Linked DNA regions of Homo sapiens: region 1 is linked to region 2. Evidence: promoter capture Hi-C in human tissues and cell types (Jung and others, 2019). All regions are on one chromosome and are shown on one strand. Each heading gives the region's core, a stretch centred on a gene start or on the middle of the fragment in contact. The rest is flanking DNA. Distances are from core to core; before and after follow the strand shown. Region 1 overlaps DHX30 (DExH-box helicase 30). Region 2 holds the start of ATRIP (ATR interacting protein).

Region 1 (7,367 bases), core at 2,518-5,017, 630 kb before region 2:
CTTCTTTGTGGGTTGCTGGACCAGGAATATTAACCATTGCCTCTTGGCCCTCCTTGTTCTCAGGATTCCAGCTTTCCCTCCTGGCCAGAAATGTTCAGCCTGGACTCATTCAGAAAAGGTAAGACTGCAACTGTGCTTGTGACCTCATGCCCTTCCTTATTGGGATGGGCAGCTCTGAGGGCTGTGAAAGTCTCTCCCCAGTATGTAGTTCTTGCACATTTCTTTGGGTGGTTTTCCAAAGGCCTTTCCTATAGCCTTCCTTTTGCATGGTGCTTAGAATCTGTGCCAACCCTTGCCATGGCCTTTGCCATGCTTCCTCCCAGTGCCCCCTTCTGCGTACTCCCTGCTTATTAAAATCCTTTTTTTTTTTTCTGAGATGGAGCCTCACTTCTGTCGCCCAGGCTGGAGTGCAGTGGCACGATCTCGGCTCAGTGCAATCTCCTCCTCCTGGGTTGAAGCAATTCTCCTGCCTCAGCCTCCGTAGTAGCTGGGATTACAGGAACCAGCTGCCAAGCTCGGCTAATTCTTTTTTTTTTTTTTAGTTGAGACGGGGTTTCACCATGTTGGCCAGGCTGGTCTCAAACTGTTGACCTCAAGTGATCCACCCACCTCGGCCTCCCAAAGTGCTGGGATTACAGGTGTGAGCCACCGTGGCTGGCCTCTAAAATCCTATTTTTCTAGGCTAGTATTTTATACCATCTCCTTCATGAACCTTTCCTAATTCTGTTGACCAAATGCAATCTTTCTCCAATCTTCCTCGGTACCATACCTGTTCGTTCTCATGGTTAGTCTATTCTGAATTAATCATTTTGTCACTAGATTGGAAGCTCCCTGTAGCCAGGGCCTGTTGTGTGCTTTTACGATGCATAGCACCTGGCCAGCATTTCGCACATAGTAGGCCTCAGTAAACACTGGTGGAAGTTGGATTGAGTCTGTATTAGGCTGTTCTTGCATTGGTATAAAAAAATACCTGAGACTGGGTAATTTATAAGAAAAGAGGTTTAATTGGCTCACATTTCTGCAGGGTGTATAGGAAACATGGTGCTGGCATCTGTTTGGCTTCTGGGGAGGACTCAGGGAGCTTTCACTCAGGGGCAGAAGGTGAAGCGGGAGCAGGCGTGTCACGTGGCAAAAATCAGGATCCAGAGAGAGAGAGTTGGGGAGGTGCCACACAATTTAAACAAGATTGGCTGGGCATGATGGCTCACGCCTGTAATCCCAGCACTTTGGGAGGCCAAGGTGGACGGATTGCCTGAGCTCAGGAGTTCCAGACCAGCCTGGACAACACAGTGAAACCCCATCTCTACTAAAATACAAAAAATTATCCAGGCGTGGCAGTCTGCGCCTATAGTCCCAGCTACTTGGGAGGCTGAGGCAGGAGAATAGCTTTAACCCGGGAGGCAGAGGTTGCAGTGAGCCGAGATTACACCACTGCACTCCAGCCTGGGCAACAGAGCAAGACTCAGTCTCAAAAAAAAAAAAAAAAAAGGCCATGTGTGGTGGTGGGCACCTGTAATCCCAGCTACTTGGGAGGCTGAGGCAGGAGAATCGCTTGAACCTGGGAGACGGGTTGCAGTGAGCTGAGATCGTGCCATTGCACTCCAGCCTGGGCAACAAGAGTGAGATGCCATCTCAAAAATAAATAAATAAATAAATAAAATAAACAACAGGATCTCATGAGAGGCTGGGCGCAGTGGCTCACACCTGTAATCCCAGCACTTTGGGAGGCCAAAGTGGGCGGATCACTTGAGGTCAGGCATTTGAGACCAGCCTGGCCAACATGATGAGACCCGTCTCTACTAAAAATACAGAAAATTAGCTAGGCGTGGTGGTGTGCACCTGTATTCCCAGCTACTTGGGAGGCTAAGGCACGAGAATTGCTTGAACCCAGGAGGTGCAGGTTGTAGTGAGTCAAGATTGTGCCACTGCACTCCAGCCTGGGCGACAGGGCAAGAATCCATCTCAAAAAAAAAAAAAAGATTTCATGAGAATTTACTCACTATCACAAGGATAGTAGCAAGCCATGAGGGATCCATTCTGTGACCCTTCAACAGCAGAGATTACATTTCCTTTTTTTTTTTTTTTGAGACGGAGTCTCACTCTGTTGTTGCCCAGGCTGGAGTGCAGTGGCACGAGCTTGGCTCACTGCAACCTCTGCCTCCCGGGTTCAAGCAATTCTCCTGCCTCAGCCTCCCGAGTAGCTGGGACTACAGGCGTGTGCCACCACACCCGGGTAATTCTTGTATTTTTAGTAGAGATGGGATTTCGCCATATTGGCCAGGCTGGTCTGTAACTCCTGAGCTCAAGTGATTTCGCCCATCTCGGCCTCCCAAAGTGTTGGGATTACAGGCGTGAGCCACCAGCAGGAGATTACATTTCAACATGAGATTTGGGTAGGGACAAATATCCACACTATATCAAAGTCATTCTTTCGTTAGTGATCATAGAAACTCTGGCAAGTCTTGCCGGGCGCGGTGGCTCACGCCTGTAATCCCAGCACTTTGGGAGGCCGAGGCAGGCGGATCACGAGGTCAGGAGATTGAGACCATCCTGGCCAATATGGTGAAACCCCGTCTCTACTAAAAATACAAAATAAAAAATTAGCCGGGTGCGGTGGTGGGTGCCTATAGTCCCAGCTACTCGGGAGGCTGAGGCAGGAGAATGGTGTGAACCCAGGGGGCGGAGCTTGCAGTGAGCCGAGATCGCGCCACTGTCTGGCCTGGGCGAAACAGCGAGACTCCATCTCAAAAAACAAAAAGAAATTCTGGCAAGTCTTGAAATTAGTGCTCTACAGCACACTGAGTGAGGGGGTTGCATAGGCAATGGCAGAATTGAGCCTTGACAGGGCTATAGGGTAGAGTTCACAATGTGTTTATAGGAGGTAAAGTAGCCTGTGGGGACTTTAGGGGCCAGATCCTGAGAGCTTTGTATTTCTTAGAACATGACTTTTTTTCTTCAAGAGACTGAAGAGTAAAGGGCCTGTAGCCCGTGTTGAAGCTGATTCTGAGGCTTCTGTCTGAGGATATTTTACAAATAAATAAGAACCATAACAGAACGTCTATAACTGCTGATTAAATAGGTCTTCCTGATTGTGTCTTCTCTCTCTCTAAGTTGTGTTCCTCGAGGCCTGGGAAACCCCTGGCCAAGTGGTGCCCTGTGTAACCCATTGAATGGGGCCAGAAGGAGGGCTGGACGTACTAGGGCTCAGAGAGCAGCATGTCCCTGCCTCCTTGTGTATCTCCAGCCACTCCATCTGTTTTCATATTGTTTGAAAAAATTTATTTCTGTCATCCTGGGCTTTTTTTTTTTTTTTTTTTTTGGCCAGCTGTATGTAAGAAGGAAAAAACTGAACTTGAGATTAGTGTGGGCAGCACATTTTTTTTTTTTAGCTAAAATTAGCACTTTGTGTTTACTTACTAACCAGTGGGCTTTATTGTCTACCCACTTGTAAAAGGTCGATGAAAGCAGGTTTTCTCATGGTGAGTGTCTCTGAATTAATAGTACTGATTTTGTAAAGAGATGGAAAGCCCAATAAAAATCACGATCCTCAGCTGAGCGCGGTGGCTCAGGCCTGTAATCCCAGCACTTTGGGAGGCTAAGGTGGGTGGACTACTTGACATCAGGAGTTCGAGACCAGCCTGGCCAACATGGTGAAACCCCGTCTCTACTAAAAAAAAATAAAAATAAAAATAAAAATCAGCCGGGCATGGTAATCCCAGCTACTTGGGAGGCTGAGGCAGCAAATCGCTTGAACCCAGGAGGCAGAGGTGGCAGTGAGCTGAGATCACACCACTGCACTCTAGCCTGGGTGACAGAGCGAGACTCTGTCTCAAAACAAAAAAAAAAAAAAAAAAAGAAAAAAAAATTTTTTTTTCCTGTCTGAGCGCCGTGTCTCATGCTTGTAATCCCAGCACTTTGGGAGGCTAAGACAAAAAGATTGTTTGAGCCAGGAGTTTGAGAGCAGCCTGGACAGCATTGGGAGACCCTGTCTCTCTGTATTTTTAGCAAGCTCCACCTCCCAGATTCATGCCATTTTTCTGCCTCAGCCTCCCGAGTAGCTGGGACTACAGGCGCCAGCCACCACGCCTGGCTAATTTTTTGTATTTTTAGTGGAGATGGGGTTTCACCATGTTAGCCAGGATGGCCTCAGTCTCCTGACCTCATGATCCACCCGCCTTGGCCTCCTAAAGTGTTGGGATTACAGGTGTGAACCACCACGCCCGGCCGTTTTTTGTTAGTTAGTTTTGTTTTGTTTTGTTCTGTATTTTTTTAAGAAATAAAATAATTAAAAAAATAATTTTTTTTTTTTTGGTGGAAACAGGGTCTTCCTATGTTTCCCAGGCTGTTCTCAAACTCCTGGCTTCATGTAATCCTCCTGCCTTGGCCTCCCAAAGTGTTGGGACTACAGGTGTGAGCCACTGTGCTTGGCTTGAGTTTTCCTTTTACATGTTTCTTTGCTCTTCATCATCAAATTATGAGTTCCTAGGGTGTCATGAACCTTGAGAGGAAATGTAAGTTGATGTGAAGCTTGAGGTTCCCGAGTTTCATTGACTGGGGCTTGAATCTGGCTTTCCCTAATACTAGCAAGGTGTTAACTTACCTGATCTTGTTTCCTACCTGCTATCTTCAGGACTACAGTGAAGATATTAGAGCTGAAATATAGGAAAAGCACCTGGCTATGGTCGGTGCTCAACCCTTACTCTTGGGCATGGTATGCCCTTGATAAATACTGGAGAGCTATAGCCTTGCCTCAGCATGCAGTGTGCTGTGAGGTTGCATGATTGAGCACCTGCTGTGTAGGAGACACTAGGGTGAAGAGAGCTCTGTTTCAGAGATGCTTCTTGGTACTCTGGAGCTTATAGCCTCAATAGGATGGGCCATTTGATGGTTCTGATGGAAACAGCTATAGCAATTCCATGCAGCATTGTGGATGGTGGCCCACTGGGTCTTGTGGCTAGCTACCATCTTTCTCATTATGTAATTTAACAAAGCTGTTGGTAAGAATGCCCATGTTCCTGGTAAGTTACTTGTTACTGCCCTTGCGAGCATCTTAACTTAGCTGTCTGATTTCTTACCTGTAATGCCATCGGACTCAGGCTACAAAGAGCAAGCTGAACAATAAAAAAGAGCAAAAAAAAAAAAAAAAAAAAAAAAAAAAGAGCAAGCTGAGTCTTTCACAGCCAGCACAAAACTTTGAAAAACACTGGATCAATAGCAAGAATGTGCATTTTCTCTCCAGGTACATGGTCAGAAGTGGGCTCAGTGAAGTTATGGGATTGTAACAACTCTCTCCCAATTGCTGAAAATGCTTAATGAGATAATAACTAATCATTGAATCATTTATTCTTTTTTTTTTTTTTTCAATCCAGCATCCCTGGATGTGAATGAGGACCCTCCTTAAACAGGAATGGAGAGGTTGAGCTGGTCATTTCCAACCTTAGCTTCAAGGCAGAACTGGAATTAGTTTCAAAATAAACCTTGATCCTAGGCATTTAGTTCTAGAAGATCCTACAAGCACGTCTGCTGTAACTCTATGTATGTTTTCTGTAAAATCACATACCTATAAAATAAAAAGAAAAAAATCACACATCTATAATATTATAAGAGAGCTTATGGGAAAAATAGAATTGGGCCAATGCAACTGCAACTTTTTGACCAAAATATGACAAAAAACAATTATTGGTGCTTGGGAAGATGCTTTGGACTACCTAGACAGGCAGCTCAGGGTGATGTGATGCTGCAAATGTACAAAGAGCCGTCTTCTTTTTTTTTTTTTTTTTTTTAAGACGGAGTCTTGTTCTGTGGCCAGGCTGGAGTGCAATGGCGCGATCTCGGCTCACTGCATCCTCCGCCTCCCGGGTTCAAGTCATTCTCGTGCCTCAGCCTCCTGAGTAGCTGGGACTACAGGCACACGCCACCATGCCCTGCCAATTTTTGTATTTTTAGTAGAGACGGGGTTTCACCATGTTGGCCAGGATGGTCTCGATCTCTTGACCTTGTGATCCGCTGGCCTCAGCCTCCCAAAGTGCTGGGATTATAGGCGTGAGCCACCGCGCCGGGCTACAAAGAGCCTTCTAATGTGAGCAGAGCTGGCAGTTACCGAGGAAGCCCAGGTGGAGGTGGAGTTCTGAAACAGCCACTGTGGTGAAGGAGTGTGTGCAGCTGGGACTGTGGGGGAGGAGGGTTGGAGTGCAGGACTTGCTTCTCCCCTAACATTTTGTTGTGAAAAATTTCAAAAATACTGAAACATTGAAGAAATTGTATAGTGAACACCTTTGTATCTACCACCTTGATTCTCTATAGGTATAGGCACTCAATTTTAATAAAAAAAAAAATAGCTGAAAGGGCTTTTTCTTTCCTGCTGAAGATTATAATTCTACTCCTGCTTTTTCAGCTCCTTTGCTTTCAGAATTTTTTGAAACAAGAGTCTTGTTTTACTGATATCTTTCTCCTCTTTACCAATTGTATATGAGTCAATTTGCATTCCACAAATGAACATCTTTGTAGAACAGGTGGTTTCTCAAGCTTCAGGTGTGTGTGGCCATCTCTGCTCCCCTTCTACCCCATTTACTGTACTGAAACCAGAGGGGCAAAGAGAGCAAAGAGTGCATGCATTTCTCCCAGCCCCAAGACTAGTGACTCTCTGAATGTCACCATTTAGGTGGTTTAAAAGGACCTTAAGCCTTCCTTACCCATATATTTCCACCTTCCTTACCCATGTATTTCCACCTTCCCGTGGAAGACTCAGTGCCTTAATTTTCGTTCATGTACCTCAAGTTGTTGGGACTTCTTAGAAATGTACTTTCTGGTTACTAATAAGTAGCATTTAGCCCCCAAATGAATGGAAGTATTTGGAATGGCAGGTTGTTCTCTTTTAGAAAGAGGGAGAAGGCTGGTAAGTGTGCGTCTGGTTTTAGCTCTCAAGCTGGACCCACATAGTCCAGTCGTCCCTCTCTTACCCAGCTCTTGGAGGGAAAGAATGATTTGAGATTTGGTGGCTGAGGTAGCCATCTGGGGAACGCATAGCAAAGGCGTAGGTAGCTACCATAAGAAGCAGACACGTGGTGCTTTTGAGTTGATGTAGTACCAAGGCTTTCAGCTTTCTCCTGTTGTCCTGTCACATCCTCACAACTTAAGACTAAGAGAAGTATATAGGATGGGTGTTAACCTCATAGGGGGTAGCTAAGGGAACAGGAAGAGTTTGAGGGCTCTCTCTAAGGCTGTCACATATCACATCATATGAGACGCTTGCCTTCTTCCTGTGTGGCGTTGTTAGTGCTGTTCCTCAGAACCTGTGGCTGCTCCCAGCACTGTCCAGCAGCCCTGTTGCCCAGAGCTCCTCACGGATGCTCTGAGTGAGTCAGTTC
Region 2 (7,112 bases), core at 4,461-6,960:
TTTGTTTGAGACAGAGTCTCACTCTGTCTCCCAGGCTGGAGTGCAGTGGCGTGATCCCGGCTCACTGCAACCTCCACCTTCCGGGTTCAAGCAATTCTCCTGCCTCAGCCTCCCAAGTAGCTGGGATTACAGGCGCCTGGCACCACGCCTGGCTAATTTTTTTTTTTTGAGACGGAGTGCGGCTAATTTTTGTATTTTTAGTAGAGATGGGGTTTCACCATCTTAGCCAGGCTGGTCTTGAACTCCTGACCTCGTGATCCACCCGCCTCAGCCTCCCAAAGTGCTGGGATTGCAGGCGTGAGCCACCGCACCTGGCCAGTTTTTTTTTGTATTTATAGTAGAGACGGAGTTTCACCATGTTGGCCAAGCTGGTCTCGAACTCCTGACTTCAAGTGATTCACCCGCCTCTGCCTCCCAGAGTGCTCGGATTACAAGCGTGAGCCACAGCACCTGGCCAACTTTTTTTTTTTTTTCGTACTGCTTATATTATCTCTAATATATGCTTTTTTGCTTTCTGAGTCTTTTTACTTCTGGGTATGCCTAGACTAAAAGATAAAGTCCAGGCTCTTCAGTGTGCTGTTGCTCCATATGCTTTTCTAACTGAATCCTCCACCTTTTTTACATCTTTTATGTAGGAGAAATTCATTACATTTCAAAATATTTTTCAGGCCCAGCAGTTCTAGTACTTTATGTGCATCATAAGCATTATTTTACATTGATCCAACTAGTGATTATTTCCTCCACAGTTGTTTATGCCCCCATTTGAGCACTGTGAGCCATGCTAGGCATGATGGAGACAAGGATGGTGGGAGTGTCATCTAGGGCTTCCCAAGACCTCTCTCCCAGTGGGTTTGATCCATTATTGTTTACCTACCCAGCACTGAGATTTCTAGCTCTTGAGATTCCTTTTCAGAATGGTGTAAGGGGCCAGGCACAGAATGGGCTGACCATAATCCAAGTGCTTTGGGAGGCCTAAGCAGGAGGATTATTTAAGGCTAGGAGTTCACAGCATCAAAGGGAGACCCTGTCTACAGAAAAAATTTAAAATTAGCTGGGCGTGGTGGTGGTGGCGGCCCGTTTCCTGTAATCCCAGCTATTTAAAAGGCTGAGGCAGCCTCGCTTAAGCCCAGGAGTTCAAGGTAAGAGGATTATTTGAGCACGGGAGTTCAGGCTGTAGTGAGCTGGGATTGCGCCACTGTATTCCAGCCTGGGAGATAGAATGAGACCCTATCTCAAAAAAAAAAAAAAAAAAAGGTATCTTGCACCCTCTTTTAATCTGTGATTGTGTATAGGGGAAAGAACAGTCTTTAGTGTAACTCTATGCTAGTTGTTTCTCATTGAGCATCATCTGATTTTTATTTTAAGGTTTATTTTGTCAGGCCCCTTTGGATCTTCTTTCCTGTATTAGGCATATGTAACCCTACACTTTTTTTTTTTTTTTTTTTTAAATAGTCTCACTCTGTCGCCCAGGCTGGAGTGCAGTGGCATGATCTCAGCTCACTGCAGCCTCCGCCTCCCAGGTTCAAGTGATTCTCCTGCCTCAGCCTCCTGAGTAGCTGGGATTACAGGCGCACACCACCATGCCCGGCTAATTTTTGTATTTTTAGTAGAGACGGGGTTTCACCATGTTGGCCAGGATGGTCTCGATCTCCTGACCTCGTGATCCACCCGCCTCCACCTCCCAAAGTGCTGGGATTACAGGCGTGAGCCACCGCGCCTGGCCCAATCCTATGCTGTTTCTTAAATCGCCTACTGCGTTCCACATATATGGTCATTTGTAAATTGACAGAGTATACCAGGTGCCAGGATCATAATATGGAAGGTAGTGTAACATGGCAGTTAAGAATGTGGACTTTGAAGTCAGATGACTCAGGTTGGGATCCTGGCTTGTCACATACTTGAACAACACCTAACAATAAGACTTCTTTTTTGGCTGGGCATGGTGGCTCAAGACTGTAATCCCAGCACTTTGGGAGGCTGAGGTGGGTGGACCACTTGAGGTCTGGAGTTCGAGACCTGCCTGGCCAACATGGTCAAACCCCATCTCTACTAAAAATACAAAAATTAGCCGGGTATGGTGGCATGCGCCTTTAGTCCCAGCTACTCGGAAGGCTCATGCATGAAGAATCACTTGAACCTGGGAGGCGGAGGCTGCAGTGAGCCAAAATTGCACCACCGCAGTCCAGCCTAGGTGACAAAGCAAGACTCCATCTCCAAAAAAAAAAAAAAAAAAAAAAAATGCTGGGGTCGGTGGCTCACACCTGTAATCCCATCATTTTGGGAATCTGAGGCAGGCAGATCACCTGAGGTCAGGAGTTCGAGACCAGCCTGACCAATATGGTGAGCCCCGTCTCCACTAAAAATACAAAAATTAGCCAGGGCTTGTGGTCCCAGCTGCTCGGAAGGCTGAGACAGGAGAATTGCTTCAACCTGGGAGGCAGAGGTTGCAGTGAGCTGAGATCGTGCCACTGCACTGCAGCCTGGGCGACAGAGCAAGATTCCATCTCAGAAAAAAAAAAAAAAAGGACTTCTTTTTCTGTAAAATGGGTTGATATGGCATGAGGATTAAATAAGCCAATCTGTGAAGTATACAGAAGTGTAGATCTAGACCAGTGCACAGCCAGCCACTGCTTGTACTCCATCTCATCCTCATTTTACCTTTACCTAGAACAGACAGTATCAGTGAAGCTGCTATCCATGCTTGTGTTAAAGTGAATGCCCAATACAAAAGCCAGGCTTTACTAAGGTCCACAGCAGGCCCGTGGGGCTTCTACCGTAAGAACTATATTTTTCCCTAATTGTGACTATTTTTCTTTTGCAGCCACAGGTGGAATTAAGAAATCTGGCAAAAAGTAAGCTGTTCCTTGTGCCTGAGGAGATGGTGACCCTTTATTTCATCTGTATTTAAACCTCTCTATTCCCTGCCATAACATCTTTTGCCACGTATAGCTGGAATTAAGTGTTGTCTTGGAGCTGTTGTACATTTAAGAATAAACTTTTGTAAAAAAAGAAAAATCTTACAGTGGCTCATCATCTCTTTAGTTGTTTTCACTAAGTCGTTCCTACCATAACTGTGAATTTAAAGTAAAACCAGCTCAGAATCTTGCCAGAGTCTGTTCTTTGGTCCTTGTTCTACCCTAAACTTTGTATCACCTGAAATTAAACCAACTCATTTGAAAGGATGGCGTTCTTGTGTGGTTGTATACCTGACAGAATACCTTACATGAGTTTAGTGGAAGAATTTGCACTTTTTTTTGGTGGGGGAGGGGGTGGAGTCTCACTCTCACCCAGGCTGGAGTGCAGTGGCATGATCTCTGCTCAATGCAACCTCCACCTCCCGGGTTCAAACTATTCTCCTGCTTTGGCCTCCCAAGTAGCTGTGGTTACAGGCACCCGCCACCATGCCTAGCTAATTTTTTGTATTTTTAGTAGAGAGGGGTTTCACCATGTTGGCCAGGCTGGTCTCAAACTCCTGACCTCAAGTGATCTGCCTGCTTCAGCCTCCCAAAGTGCTGGGATTACAGGCATGAGCCACTGTGCCTGACCAGAATTTGTGCTTTTAAAAGAAAACCCATCTTTATGTTGTCACATCCAAATTGCCGTATATTTTGATGAGACTTGTTCATCTGTTCATGTAAGGCGTCTGCTATATGCAGGCACTGGGGTATGTAACGGAACAGTTCCTGTTGTCAAGGAACTTCTCTACTGTGGAAGAGGCAGGGCAGGGCAAATTACATGATCCTTCAAGTTGCTAGCAGTGAAGTCCCCATGCGCACCAAACAGGTCCAGGGCAGCAGCTGCGGGAAGCCCCAGCCCACTTGCTGGTGGATGGAGGGGGTGCCAGTGCCAGGCAAGGGGTTGGGGGTGAGGCAAAATGGGGGCTCACTCTACCTCCTGCTGCCCAGGACTGGAGTCCCAGGCATACCTACCGCTTGCCCCTCAATAAATGCAAAGACAGAGACCATCCATAATGTGTGCTGAATATGTTTTAAAATGCTTAGCTGGGTGTGGTGGTGCACTTCTGTAGTCCCAGCCATTTGGGAGGCTGAGGTGGGAGGATCACTTGAGCCCAGGAGTTCGAGGCTGCAGTGAGCCAAGATCACACCACTGCACTCCAGCCTGGGAGACAGAACAAGACCCTGTATTTAAAAAAAAAAAATTAATTCAGAAGCACAAGTATTTGGATTTCCCTCCCAGGCCCTTAATACAATTATGTTAATAATGCTCAGCTTTCTCTGAGAATATTGTCGAAGAGCGCTCTGGAACCATTATGAGACTGCTAAATCAAAACTAGGTTTTAGAATATTGAAAACTTTCATGATTAATGTACTAGATATTAACGCGGGAGAGGGGGCAGGGGGAAGCCTGTGTTGGTCCTCTCCAGAAAGTTGCACAGCCAGTAGCACCCTTCAGTAGGCTTCAGGCATTCCCTGTGGGGCCTTGCTAGCTGGCACCCAGCCGTATGCTGCTAAAACAAACCTGAGCACCAGTGATTCACACTGTTCCTGAAAGCAAGTTACTTGGTGGAACCTATCCCTCTTTAACAAATGAACAGTCCTGTCTCTTTCCAGGACCAGAGTCCTGCAGCAATTAAGCATGCAACACTTGGGAAGCTATCTGACGGAGACTACCAGTTGCTCCAAAAAATTTTAAACTCCTTAGACATTATAGGCCCTGATAGCACTCTCTTTTTCATTTACTCTTTTCATTTAATGCTTTCACAAATATTCCTAGGACACTCACAGGTGAAGTTTGGCACTGAGCAGGTAAGGCTGAAAGAGTCTTGCTCCTGTTACTCTCCATTGCCAAATTCTCTATTGCGGCTAACTTCTGCACACCACAGCTGCCCAATAAAATCTGTCAGGCACGCAAGCCCACCTCAAATTGCTGCTCCTTTGTGAAGCTTTACCTCTGTTCGCCACCGGTAACTCTTACCTGGCCTTTGTGTGGCCTCCCTTTCAATGTAGAATTCTCGTGTTAGTCTTATGTGCCAGCCTCCTACCCCTCTATCCTGCTAACTTGACTCAACTTGTAGGACAGCGCAGGTGCCATTTACAGGGGGACTTCCTTGACCTCCTGAGCCCTATTCTATACAACCAGAGCTTAGGAAAAAAAAACAGTCCAGCACTCAGAGGAATGGATGTTAACAGCCTGAGCAGCTCCCACCCCCTCCCACACAAGAACAGCTCCAAACATCATTCCTCCTTGGACTTTCCTCCTCCCTGGGCCTACCTCAAATGTACACATGTGAAACATTCACTAAACCCGAAGATGTCTGCACACGACAGCTCTATTCATACTCCTCACCCAACAAATTCCACTCTCCTCAAGAAAGCCTAGGGGTTTGTGGGAGGTGGGTCTGGCGGCAGAAGGAAAGCGAGGTCACGGAGACCACATCCCTGAATGATGCCTGGCTCGACTCAAACGCAACACGCGTGAATGCTAGGGCAGGCTGCTCCTGCGCGGCCCTCCTCCACGGAATGCCAGGGAGGGAGCGCAAAGCCACCAGCGCGGCGGAGCTGGTGCGCCTCCGGCCCGCCTCTCCGGTAACGGGTCGCGCCGCACTGAGTCCTTGCAGCAAACCTGCCGAATCCCGCCCGTGGACCTCTAAACACCGGGCGGGGCCGGGTGTGGCGGCGCGCTCGGACGTTCGTCATTCCTCCGCGCCCTCCGCCTGCCAGCTGATTGGCCCCTGGGCCAGGGGCGGGGCACTCGCGGCGGAGGCAAGCGGCGGCGCGCGGACGGTTGGTCCAGTTCTCCGGCCTGGCGGCAGGCAAGTCTAGCTCGGCGCTGTCGGATACTTGGGGTGAGCGGAAAGCATGGCGGGGACCTCCGCGCCAGGCAGCAAGAGGCGGAGCGAGCCCCCGGCGCCTCGCCCCGGCCCGCCGCCGGGCACCGGGCACCCCCCGAGCAAGCGGGCCCGGGGCTTCTCCGCAGCCGCTGCCCCGGACCCTGACGACCCGTTCGGCGCGCATGGGGACTTCACTGCCGACGACCTGGAGGAGCTTGACACCCTCGCGTCACAGGCCCTGAGCCAATGTCCGGCCGCGGCTCGGGACGTGTCCAGTGAGTGCTCCTCGCGGCCTTTTGCTCGGAGGGAGTTGTCAACCGCGCCAGATCCCCTTGATGGCTGTGGCTTCGGAACCTCGCGGCCAGCACTGCCTTTTCGCCTTTTTAAAATATGGGAACACCCTGATTTAAGCAGCGGTTGTCTTCCAGAAGGTCCTTTGATTTTAGGGGGAAATGCATTAGCCAGGTCAAACAGCCGATTTGAAACACAGAAGGCTAAGTTGACATTTTACGTTATTTTCTAAAGTTTAGGCCACTTGGTTCTTGGTTCTAAGCAGAGATCCTTGGAACACACCTACCACCACCATCAGAACCATCACTACCCATGCATGGGGACCCATTCTTGTGACAAGTTTGAGCGGCTTTAGATCTTATGAAGCCCACTGTCTCCCTTGGGCAGTGTGAGCATGGGAGGAGCCAGACACAGGCAAGAGATGAAATAAATTTATTCTTTTATACAACCAGTAAACTGTGCTAGGTGCCCAAACGTGAGGAACTGCAGCTGACCTTACAATGAACAAAATACAAAAACTGTCCTTCATGGAGCTTACATTCTAGTTGAGGAGTGAGTGAAGTCTTGAGGACTCCCAGAAAGAGAAATGTTTTGAGTGCACCTTGCATCTGTACTTGGGTGTCTCAAGGCACCTTAAACTCAACACGATCATTTCCTGGAAACCCAGTCCTCCTCCAGCACTTCTAGCATGGTGCCGGCAAAGCAGACATTCAGAGAATGATGACCAGATGTTCCACAAGGAAGTAACTAGCACGACTCTCCATCCAGTGGCACAAAGCGACTCTTCCCCTTTCCTTGACTCTACATCTAATTTATTTGGAAAGCATGTCAAGCTTACCTTCTTAATCCTTCTCTGGAGTCTATCCTATTCACATTGCTTCTACCAGCTGCCTGATCTGTGTTACCATGAGTCCTCTCTTGAACAATGGTCTGCTAAATTGGTTTCCCATTTCCAGTCTTGACTCCCTACAAGTGAGGCTTCACATCACATTCTGAGTGATCTTTTCAAAACTCAAATCTGGCTGTGTCT

The links. Contacts are between HindIII fragments. The study calls those that stand out against the background at their distance.
Region 1: a fragment that was not itself captured here is called in contact with the fragment with the promoter of ATRIP in region 2 in 1 of the 25 tissues and cell types used here (lymphoblastoid cells).

Annotation. Positions count from the first base shown.
Region 1 is chr3:47,810,594-47,817,960 of GRCh38, forward strand. DHX30 (DExH-box helicase 30) reads left to right here. Exons shown (of 22, transcript NM_138615.3): 3 at 64-118. The coding sequence starts at 91. Among named protein-coding and RNA genes, the nearest start is that of DHX30, 11 kb to the left of the region's middle. RefSeq lists an enhancer at 6,989-7,367. The HindIII fragment of the contact is 3,517 bases long and covers 2,010-5,526 here.
Region 2 is chr3:48,441,027-48,448,138 of GRCh38, forward strand. ATRIP (ATR interacting protein) reads left to right here and starts at 5,711. Exons shown (of 13, transcript NM_130384.3): 1 at 5,711-6,066. The coding sequence starts at 5,820. It overlaps ATRIP-TREX1 (ATRIP-TREX1 readthrough), which reads left to right and starts at 5,753. Exons shown (of 15, transcript NR_153405.1): 1 at 5,753-6,066. It overlaps TMA7 (translation machinery associated 7 homolog), which reads left to right. Exons shown (of 4, transcript NM_015933.6): 4 at 2,822-3,182. The coding sequence ends at 2,856. It also overlaps a transcript of CCDC51 not described here. RefSeq lists a silencer at 5,656-6,015. The HindIII fragment of the contact is 4,147 bases long and covers 1,763-5,909 here.